Regions from separate parts of the Homo sapiens genome. Here region 2 is linked to region 1. The links are contacts of gene promoters, found by promoter capture Hi-C in blood cells and fetal thymus (Javierre and others, 2016). All regions are on one chromosome and are shown on one strand. Each heading gives the region's core, a stretch centred on a gene start or on the middle of the fragment in contact. The rest is flanking DNA. Distances are from core to core; before and after follow the strand shown.

The links. Contacts are between HindIII fragments. The CHiCAGO score rates a contact against its expected background, and 5 or more counts as called.
Region 2: a contact is called between a fragment that was not itself captured here and the fragment with the promoter of SMC1B in region 1, in 4 of 17 cell types (naive CD4 T cells, naive CD8 T cells, monocytes and 1 more). The highest score is 5.5, in naive CD4 T cells.

Annotation. Positions count from the first base shown.
Region 1 is chr22:45,412,027-45,417,352 of GRCh38, forward strand. It overlaps SMC1B (structural maintenance of chromosomes 1B), which reads right to left and starts at 1,573. Exons shown (of 25, transcript NM_148674.5): 1 at 1,433-1,573. The coding sequence starts at 1,541. RIBC2 (RIB43A domain with coiled-coils 2) reads left to right here and starts at 1,667. Exons shown (of 7, transcript NM_015653.5): 1 at 1,667-1,989; 2 at 2,296-2,377. The coding sequence starts at 1,861. RefSeq lists an enhancer at 1,656-2,489. The HindIII fragment of the contact is 11,352 bases long and covers 1-5,326 here.
Region 2 is chr22:45,262,682-45,268,098 of GRCh38, forward strand. No RefSeq gene overlaps it. Among named protein-coding and RNA genes, the nearest start is that of UPK3A, 20 kb to the right of the region's middle. RefSeq lists enhancers at 669-718, 729-1,564, 989-1,178. The HindIII fragment of the contact is 8,481 bases long and covers 1-5,417 here.

The sequences.
Region 1 (5,326 bases), core at 323-2,822:
TGACACCACCCCCAGCTAATTTTTGTATTTTTAGTACAGACAGGGGTTTCACTATGTTGGCCAGGCTGGTTTCTAACTCCTGACCTAAGGTGATCCGCCCGCCTCGGCCTCCCAAAGTGCTGGGATTATAGGCATGAGCCACGGCGCCCGGCCAATTTTATTTTATATTTATCTTATTTTATTTTATTTTAGAGTCGAAGTCTCGCTCTTGTTACCCAGGCTGGAGTGCGGTGGTGCTATCTTGGCTCACTGCAACCTCTGCCTCCCGGGTTCAAGCGATTCTCCTGCCTCAGCCTCCTCAGTAGCCGGGATTACAGGTGCATGTCACCACACCCGATTAATTTTTGTATTTTTAGTAGAGACAGGGCTTCACCATGTTGGTCAGGCTGGTCTCGAACTCCTGATCTCATGATCCACCCGCCTCGGCCTCCTAAAGTGCTGGAATTACAGGTGTGAGCCACCGCGCCCAGCCTTTTTTTTTTTTTTTTTTTTTTTTTTGAGACGAGAGTCGCACTGTGTTGCCAGGCTGGAGTGCAATGGCGTGTCCTTGGCTCACTGCAACTTCCACCTCCCAGGTTCAAGCGATTCTCCCGCCTCAGCCTCCAGAGTAGTTGGGATTACAGGCGTGTGCCACCACACCCAGCTAATTTTGGTATTATTAGTAGAGACCTCCGCAGGTCCTCTGGCCTCTCCAGACCTCAGTTTCCCCAACTATAAAATGGGGAGAGCAGCCATGCGCCATGGCTAACCAAAGACGGTGTCGCCAGGAACTTAGGAAAAGCTCAGTAAACTGGGTCATCATCACTACATTCCTGGGTCAAAGCTCCCTTGGATCCAAATGGTGGTTCTGGCTGCTTGGAACCCATTACCTCCTCGACAGCTCCCTCTCACTTCAACTTCGGATGAGAAGGGAAAAGGGACGCGAGTGACCAGGGCCAAGGGCAAGAGCAGTCCCCGAAGCAGGAGTGAGGGCAGAGAACAGGGCCCAGGGCGGGACCGGGGCGGAGAGGAAGCGTCAGGACCCCCAGGGTGGGGGGCGAGGGTTGGGAGCCCCTGAGATGAAGGGCGAGGGCCGGAGCTGAGGTGGGGTGGGGTCCCTCAGGGTGTCGGAGGAGGGTCGGGAGCCAGGAGGTGGAGGGCGAGAGCGGGGCCCGAGGCGGGGCCGAGTGGAAGGGTCAGGACCTCCGAGGTGGGGCGGAGGGACAAGGGTCGGGACCCCTGAGGTGGACGGCGAGGACCGGGGCTGAGGTGGGGTGATGGGCAGGGGCTGGGCCAGGGCCAGGCCGGGATCCGGTCGCGGTCAGGCTCCGGGACTGGAAGGGGAAGGCCGGCCAGGCGCCCGCGGCAGACGCCCACACCCCACAGGCCACGTGTGGCCTGGACGCCTGGGACGGCGGAGGCGCTCCGGTGGCGCCCTGAGCTGCTCAGTTACCAGAGCCGTTGGGGCCGATGATGCAGGTGAACCTCCGGAAGGGGCCAATGACCTGGCGGCCCCGCCACGACTTGAAATTTTCCACAAGCAGCAGCTCCAGGTGGGCCATGGCGCCGCCCTCCACGCCTCACCCGCGTTATCAAGCGCCCGCGGAAAAAGCGCGGGAAGGGATTCGCCAAGTGTCGCGAGAAGAGAGCGAGACGCGGCAAGCGCGGAGCCGTTCCTTAGCAACGAGTTGTTGACATTTCCGAGAGAGCGGGAGCGTCTGTACCTCTGCGGCGTCACTGGGAGCCCGACGGAAAACTGCGCTAAAGGCTTGTCTTTCCCCTGCCCGACCGAAGGAGCCGACCTTGCCTGCGCTACAGCTTCCTTATTTTCGTCGCCTGTTCTCCTGATCCTGCGTGTTCTAAAAACCCCTTAGGCTTTCCATGGGTTCCCAGACCATGGCGGTGGCGCTGCCCAGGGACTTGCGGCAGGACGCCAACCTGGCAAAGAGGAGGCACGCGGAGCTGTGCAGGCAGAAGCGGGTCTTCAACGCCAGAAACAGGATAATTGGGGTGAAAGGGCAGGGGCCGGGACGGGGTTAGAGCGGCAGATGCGGGCGAGGGGCTGCGTGGAGGGGGAAAGGAGATGAGTTCTAGGATGAAACATCTGAGCCAGGAGGCAGCAAACGGCCTCCTGCAGGGCCAATAATGCTCCCTCTCGAGCTCGCCTGGAGTCACCAACGGTTCTCCTCCCCTGAGCCAGATTTTCTACAACTCGTTTACAGTGGGGCAGAGATTAAAAATAATAATAAGTAGGATTGTTATTACTGAATAAAATGATCTGGCTCTAACCCTTCTCCTCTGTTTTTCCATTTATAGGGAGACACTGAAGCCTGGGATGTTCAAGTTCATGACCAGAAGATAAAAGAAGCTACTGAAAAAGCTAGACATGAAACCTTTGGTGAGCATTTCCTGAATGCTTATCTATTGGTTTAGGATTGTGTGGCTTTAGACTCCAGTCTTCCCCACCGTCCCCCTGCCCCGCCTTTTTTTTTTTATTTTTTATTTTTTTTATTTAATAGAGATAGGGTCTCACTATGTTGCCCAGGCTGGTCTGGAACTCCTGCGTGCAAGTGATCCTCCCACGTCAGTCTCCCAAAGTGCTGGAACTACAGGCATGAGCCACGGTACCCAGCCCTCCTTTCTTCACATATATAAAAAGTTGTCATTTTCACACTCTTCTTCCTTTTAAATTTCACAATTTCTTGTGCCCAGTTAACTTAATGCACTGATTCTTCTCTTAAAAACAGCTATTGAATTCGAATGTGGATTATAAGAAATAGATTTTAAGGGTATATGTATGTTTTCCTTCATTTTCTTAAAAAACTGGATAGGAAAAGCCTTAAACACAGAAAGACACACACACACACTCACTTGCTCTGCTCAAAAGTTTAAGACCGTCTATGAAGGACAGCTGTTTATACCAGACAACACATATGTCCGGGCTCACACCCTCAAGCTGACTCAGAGACAGACATGATTCAAATCATAGTATTCAAGTACCTTGAATACTGTTATTCAAGGTATTATTATTCCACTTCAAATACAACTTATTTTCCCCTATCGTGTCCAACAATTTCAACAATTGTTGAAATTTCACACTTTGAGAGGCTAAAACTAGAGGATCACTTGAGACCAGGAGCTCCAGACTTGCCTGGGCAACAAAGCGAGACCCCATCTCTACAAAAAATAAATTGAAAAAAAAAAAAAAAAGAAATTTCAGTGTTTTTAAACACCATAAAGATTTTTATAATAGAAAAAAAAGCAGGATACAAAATTGTACATACAATGGGCTGTTATGTTTTTAAAATATTTTAAAATATGCTCAGAAGAAGAAGAGAGGAAATATGCCAAAATGTTAGCAGGGTAATGTTGGAGGGATAGAATTATGAGTAAACTTTATTTTCTCCTTTATACTGTTCTGTATGTTCTAAACATTTTATCTTTTTTATTAATATTTTTAGTTATGAGGTAATTCAATCTTACAAAAACAATGTGACAGGTACATATGTACCCACCATCAGACTAGATGTTAACATTTTGCCAGATTGGCTTCAGATATCTTCAGTGTTTTTTGAGAATTGTGTTTTTTATATATGTGTATATATATATATATATATATAACAACACTGCCCTGCCCCCTACCTCTTAATTTTCCCCTCCTTTCTCCTCAGAAGTGTTTATCATTCCCATGCTTTTTTTTCTATTTTCTTTTGAGATGGAGTCTTGCTCTGTCTTCCAGGCTGGAGAGCTGTGGCGCGATCTCAGCTCACCGCAACCTCCGCCTCCTGGGTTCAAGCAATTCTCCTGTCTCAGCTTCCCGAGTAGCTGGGATTACAGGTGCACACCACCATGCTGGGCTGATTTTTGTATTTTTAGTAGAGACGAGGTTTCACCATGTTGGCCAGGCTGGTCTCGAACTCCTGACCTCAGGTGATCTTCCCGCCTCTGCCTCCCAAAGTGTTGGGATTACAGGCATGAGCCACCAGGCCCAGCCCCCACGCACTATTTATGCTTGTACTATTTATGTATGTATTCATAACAATATAAAATTGTTTTTATGTGTTTTTAAAATTTATGTAAATGGTATCCTATTGAATAGATCCATTTGCAGTATGCTTTTCTTTCATCCAGGCTTGTATTTTTGAAATTAATCAGTGATTTACATATAGAGAGTATTCATTTTAATTGTTTTATGGCATTTTGTTATATGAATTAACTACAGTTTCTTCATCCATTCCCATACTGATGGCTGGTTTAGATTTTTTTTTTTCAGTTGTTTTGTCATTGTGGACACTGCTGCAATGACTGTCCAAGAATTGTGTCCCTAGCACATGTGAAAGGGATAACTAGAAGTGGAATTGATGGATCAAAGGTAGTTTTATGGGATATTGAAAAATTGTTTCGTTGTAAGTGTACCAAGTTACACTCCTACAAGCAGCAAATGAGAGGTTTTTGTTTTGTTTTGTTTTGTTTTTGAGATGGAGTCTTGCTCTGTCACCAGGCTGGAGTTCAGTGGAGCGATCTCGGCTCACTGCAACCTCTGCCTCCCGGGTTCAAGCGATTCTCCTGCCTCAGCCTCCCAAGTAGCTGTGACTATAGGCACGTGCCACCAAGCCCAGCTAATTTTTGTATTTTTAGTAGAGACGGGGTTTCACCATCTTGGCCAGGATAAGCTCTATCTCTTGACCTTGTGATCCGCCCACCTCGGCCTCCCAAAGTGCTGGGATTACAGGCGTGAGCCACCATGCCTGGCCGCAAATGAGAGATCTTGTTTCCCCACATCCTTACTAATGTGTGCCATTATTAGCATTTTAAATATTTTGCCTTCGATTCATTGGATGTTTCCCACCTTGTATGGGTGATCATCCTTTCATAATTGTATTGATTACTCAGGTTTTTTTTTTTTTTTTTTTTGAGACAGAGTCTCATTCTGTAACCCAGCCTGGAATGCAGCGGCGTGATCTTGGCTCGTAGCAACCTCTGCCTCCTGGGTTCAAGCGATTCTTTTGCCTCAGCCTCCCGAGTAGCTGGGACTACAGGCTCCTGCCACCACGCCCGGCTAATTTTGAATTTTTAGTAGAGACAGGGTTTCACCATGTTGGTCAGGCTGGTCTTATACTCCTGATCTCAGGTGATCCGCCCACCTCGGGCTCCCAAAGTGTTGGGATTACAGGTGTGAGCCACCACACCCAGCCTCAGGTTTCTTTATAGTGATCTGCCTGGCCGTTCCTACACTTTGCCCATTTATTGGGTTGGGGTTTTGGGGTTTTTTTAATTGATTTGTAGGTACTCTTTGTATATTCAGGATACTAATCCTTTAATGGCTGTGTTACTTTTTTGGAGGGTT
Region 2 (5,417 bases), core at 2,342-4,841, 150 kb before region 1:
ATGCTCATCAGTGCCCAAAATCTGGAGAGGGCTGAGACGGCAGGGGGCTGGCATGTCAGCACTGCCCTGAGTGTGTGCACACCTGGCTGGGCTGTGACAAAACCCAGGCTCGGCCCCAATTTTGCCCCAAGATCAGAGCAGGTGCCGACAGCAAGGAGAAGCCAGGCAGTGGGAGCAGGCATTTCCAAGCCTGTGAGGGCAGGGGGGCCTTCCAGGGCCCCCAAGAGTGCAGAGATGCCTGGGTCCGCAGTGGCAGTTAGGGCCGGTGCAGCTATGTGGGATGTGGGGCAGGACTCCAGCCTGCTCCGTGGAGCGGGAGGCCCCGGTCTGCAGCTGTGGTTTGGGCGGCTGCAGCTGCACCTGGGAGGGTGGGGTTCCCACCTGCTCCCAGGCTCCGAGAGCACAGGGATGCCTGGGTCCACAGCCGTGGCTTGGGCAGCTGCAGCGGCATGCAGGGAGCTGCCACCCCGACTCAGAATGGGAGAGGCTCCTGCCTGTCCCCAGCTCCTGCCAGTTCCATGGAACATGCAGCCCCAGCCGTGCCTCCCTGCTGCAGCTGGTGTGACAGCAGCAGCCGCTCCAGATGGCCTGCCACTGCCACCACTGAGACAGGTGTGTGTATAGAGGTCCATTTTATTCAGGCTGGCGAAGGAAGGCTTCTCAGGGGAGGTGGCCCTTGGGCTTCCTCCAGATGCTCTGGAGTCCTCAGTGTCTGACTCCGGCAAGTCTTTCTGAAGAACAAGCAAAGCTCTTTCTCTTGCCACCGCCAAAACATTTCCAAGGGACTCTTCAGAAGAGAGTCAGTCTGCACAGCTCCCCTGGGGCCTGGGCGGTGGGGGCAGAGATCTTATCCAACTTCTCAAATGAGATTCTGCAGGCTCCAGTGACTCGCTGGAGGTCACCCAGCTGGTAAGAAGAGGAACTGGAACTTAACCTCAGGGCTTCCACCCCGGCTCCTTCTTCTGCTCCACAAATGCAGCCCAAGCCTTGAGGGCAGTGAATAGGTCAAGGGCCAGGACAGTAGCCTGGAGCCACCCCACGAGGGTGTGGGAACCGAGGGCGGGGTGGCATGGTGAACATGGAGGAGGGAAGCCCCTATTTTTCCTGAATCCCATGCCCTGGGATCCCAGAGCAAGGCTGGCCAGGGCTGACCTTCCTTCTCATTGCAGCATCTGCTCTCAGGGCCAAGGATTGCTCTGATGACAGACTACAGGCAGAGCGAGTGGCCGGCAGGAGCCACGTGCTTCCGGAGCCTCCTGCGGCCACCCCTGCCTCCGCACTCCCCCTACAGTCCACCTCGACACAGCAGCCCAGGCCACGTTTCCAAAGCCAAAGTCAGATCATGCCATTCCTGTTCTCATCTCACACAGAATAAAACCTCAATTCTTGTCTCCGCCTGCAAGTCCCTGTACAATCCGGCGCCTGCTGATCTCATCAAGCTCTCCTGGAACCAAATCACCAGAGCAACACCATGGCAGGGGCCTCCCTCTCAGAGGAGGAGGCATTGACAGGAGATGATCTCAGGGCAGACAGTTCTAGACCAGGACAGAGCTGGAGCTGAGGCCTGAGGCAGCAGGTGCCTAGCCAGGGGCCAGCAAGGAGGTCTGAGTGCTGGAGGTCAATGTTAGAAAATAGTCGGGGCCCAGACCAGGCAGCCCATGAATGGGTTTTTCTTTGGTTCACACAGTATATTACAAAACGGACCCACACATATGTAGTTAACTGAATTTGTTTGTTTGTTTGTTTTTGAGAGAGTCTCTTGCTCTCTTGCCGAGGCTGGAGTCCAATGGTGCAATCTCGGCTCACTGCAACCTCTTGGGTTCAAGTGATTCCCCTGCCTCAGCCTCCCGAGTAGCTGGGACTACAGGCACACACCATACCTGGCTCATTTTTGTAATTTTAGTAGAGACAGGGTTTCACCATGTTGGCCAAGCTGGTCTTGAACTCCTGACCTCAAGTGATCCACCTGCCTTGGCCTCCCAAAGTGCTGGGATTACAGGCGTGAGCCACAGTGCCTGACCAAATTAACTGATTTTTGACCAAAGTGATGAAGCAACTCGGTGGGGAAAGGAAAGTGTTTCCACAAAAAGTGTTGGATCAACTGGACGTCCATATATATATAAAAAAATGAACTTCCACACTTACTTCATACTACATACTAAAATTAATTTGGGGCTGGGTGCAGTGGCTCACACCTGTAATCCCAACACTTTGGGAGGCTGAGGTGGGTGGATCACAAGGTCAGGAGTTTGAGACTAGCCTAACCAACATGGTGAAACCCCATCTCTACTAAACATACAAAAATTAGCCGGGTGTGGTGGCACTCACCTGTAATCCCAGCTACTCAGGAGGCTGAGGCAGGAGAATGGCTTGAACCCAGGAGGTAGAGCTTGCAGTGAGCCAAGATCACACCACTACACTCCAGACTGGGTGACAGAGCGAGACTCCATCTCAAAATAAATAAATAAATAAATAAATTTGGGGGAGTCTATAAAATGGACCACAGACCTAAATGGAAGAGTTAAAACTGTGAAACTTTTACAGGAAAACAGCAGAAAATCTTAGTAACCTTGAGTTAGACAGAGGCTTCTGAAATAGCACACAAAAAGCACAAATTATAAAAGGGATAATTGATAAATTGGACTTTATCCAAATTAAAATTTTTTGGTTTTTGCAAAGCATACATCCAACAAAGGACTTGTATCTCGAACACTTTCTCAGCTTTTTTCCATTCCCTTCCTCATCCAAGGAATATTTTTAGACAATCCTTCCTAATCACCCCCATGGAAATTTAATACACAGGTACCCGTTTATGTATTGTGCGTTTATTGTGCTTTGTACATAAAGAGCACAATTTTTTCATTTCACGAGAACCAATTTTTTCCCATTGGGGGCAATTTTGCCTTCATTGAAAATGCATGATCAGGCCAGACACAGTGGTACACGCCTGTTGTAATCCCAGCGCTTTCAGAGGCAGAGGCAGGCAAATCACTTGAGCTCAGGAGTTTGAGACCAATCTGGACAATATGGTGAAACTCTGTTATCTACAAAAAAGTAAAAAAACTAGCCGGGTGTGGTGGTGCATGCCTGTGGTCCCAGCTACCCAGAAGGCTGTGGTGGGAAGTTCACCCGAGCCCTGGAGGTCGAGGCTGCAATGAGCCACTGCACTCCAGCCCGGGCAACAGAATGAGACCTTGTCAAAAAAAAAAAGAAGAAGAAGAAGAAAATACATGATCTAGAATATTAAAAAAACTCTTATAGTAAACAATAACAACCCATTCTTTTTTTATTTTTAATGGGCAAAAAATTTGAATAAACTTTTCACCAAATAAGATATACAGATGACGAAAATGAAAAGAAGTTCAAAACCATGAGTTCTGGGCGGGCACAGTGGCTCACACCTGTAAGCCCAGCACTTTGGGAGGCCGATGCGGGAGGATCACAAGGTCAGGAGTTTGAGACCAGCCCATCCAACATGGTGAAACCCTGTCTCTACTAAAAATACAAAAATTGGCTGGGCGAAGTGGTTCACGCCTGTAATCCCAGAACTTTGGAAGGCCGAGGCAGGTGGATCACGAGGTCAGGAGTTCGAGACCAGCCTGGCCAAGATGGTGAAACCCTGTCTCTACTAAAAATACAAAAATTAGCTGTGCGCAGTGGCAGGTGCCTGTAATCCCAGCTACTTGGGAGGCTGAGGCAGGAGAATCACTTGAACTCATAAGGCAGAGGTTGCAGTGAGCTGAGATCACGCCACTGCGCTCTAACCTGGGTAACAGAGTGAGACTCCATCTCAAAATAATAATAATAATAATACAGAAATTAGCCTGGTGTAATGCTGCATGCCTATAATCCCAGCTACTCGGGAGGCTGAGGCAGGAGAATCACTTGAACCTAGGAGGCGGAGGTTGCAATGAGCCAAGATTGCGCCATTGCACTCCAGCCAGGGCAACAAGAACAAAACTCTGTCTCAAAAAAAAAAAAAAAAAAAAAAAAAAGATTCCCTAGGGAATGAGATGTTACAGTGAGACACCACTATACATATACCAGAATGGCCAAAATGAAGAAGACTGAACACACTAAGTGTTGGTGAGGATGTGGAGGAACTGGAATTCTCACGCACTGCTGGTGGGAATGTAAATGGATATCCACTGAAAGACAATTTGACAGTTTCTTAAAAAGTTGAACACATGCCTGCCACATGGCCCAGCCATTGTACTCTTAGGTATTTATCCAACTGAAATGAGAGCACATGTCCACATGGAGACTTGAACAGGAAGGTTCATAGCAGCTTTAGAGCTAAAATTTTAAAAGCGCCCATTAACAGGTGAACGGATCAGCTAACTGCATATCCAGTTGCATATCCTACAATTGGATACTACTCGGCAATAAAAAGGAATGAACTATTAATGGCATCTAAGAAAATGGATGAACCCCAAAATAGTTATGCTGAGTGAAAGAAGCCAGACCAAAAAAGAACACATGTTATGATTCCACTTACATGAAATTCTGAAAATCTCAGTCTCATCTATAGTGACAGAAGCAGACCAGTGGTTGCTTGGGGGTGGGATGGGGGTGGGGTGGAGGAGAGGGGAGGGGGGATGAAGAGGGAATGGATTACAAAGGGACAAGGACATACTTTTTCTTTTTCTTTTCTTTTCTTTTTTTTTTTTTTTGAGACGGAGTCTCACTCTGTCACACAGGCTGGAGTGCAGTGGTGCGATCTCGGCTCACTGCAACCTCTGCGTCCGGCGTTCAAGCGATTTTCCTGCCTCAGTCTCCGAAGTAGCTGGGATTACAGGCACCTGCCACCACACCAGCTAATTTTTGTATTTTTAGTAGAGACGGGTTTTCGCCATGTTTGGTCAGGCCGGTTTCAAACTCCTGACCTCAGGTGATCCATCTGCCTCAGCCTCCCAAAGTGCTGGGATTACAGGCGTGAGCCACCGGGCCCCGCCAGGGGCACACTTTTGGGAGTGACGGAAATGGTCATTATCTTACTGTGGTGATGGAGTCACAGAATATACATCTATATTCAAAACTCATCAAATTGTATACTTCAAATATGTGTGATTTATTTTATTTTATTATTTTATTTTGAGACAGGGTCTTGCTTTGCCACCCAGGCTGGAGTTCAGGGGCACTATCATAGCTCACTGTAGCCTTGAACTCCTGGGCTCAAGCAATCTTCCTGCCTCAGCCTCCCGAGTAGCTGGGATTACAGGCACGCGCCACCACACCCAGCTAATCTTTTATTTTTGTGGAGATGAGGTCTCACTATGTTGCCCAGGCTGGTCTTGAACTCCTGGGCTCAAATGATCCTCCCGCCCATGTCCACGCATGGTCCTTCCCTCTGCCGCACACAGAGGAAGGACCTGGGGCAAGAGGATCTGTGGGAGCTGAGTGGGGGAGCCTAGGAG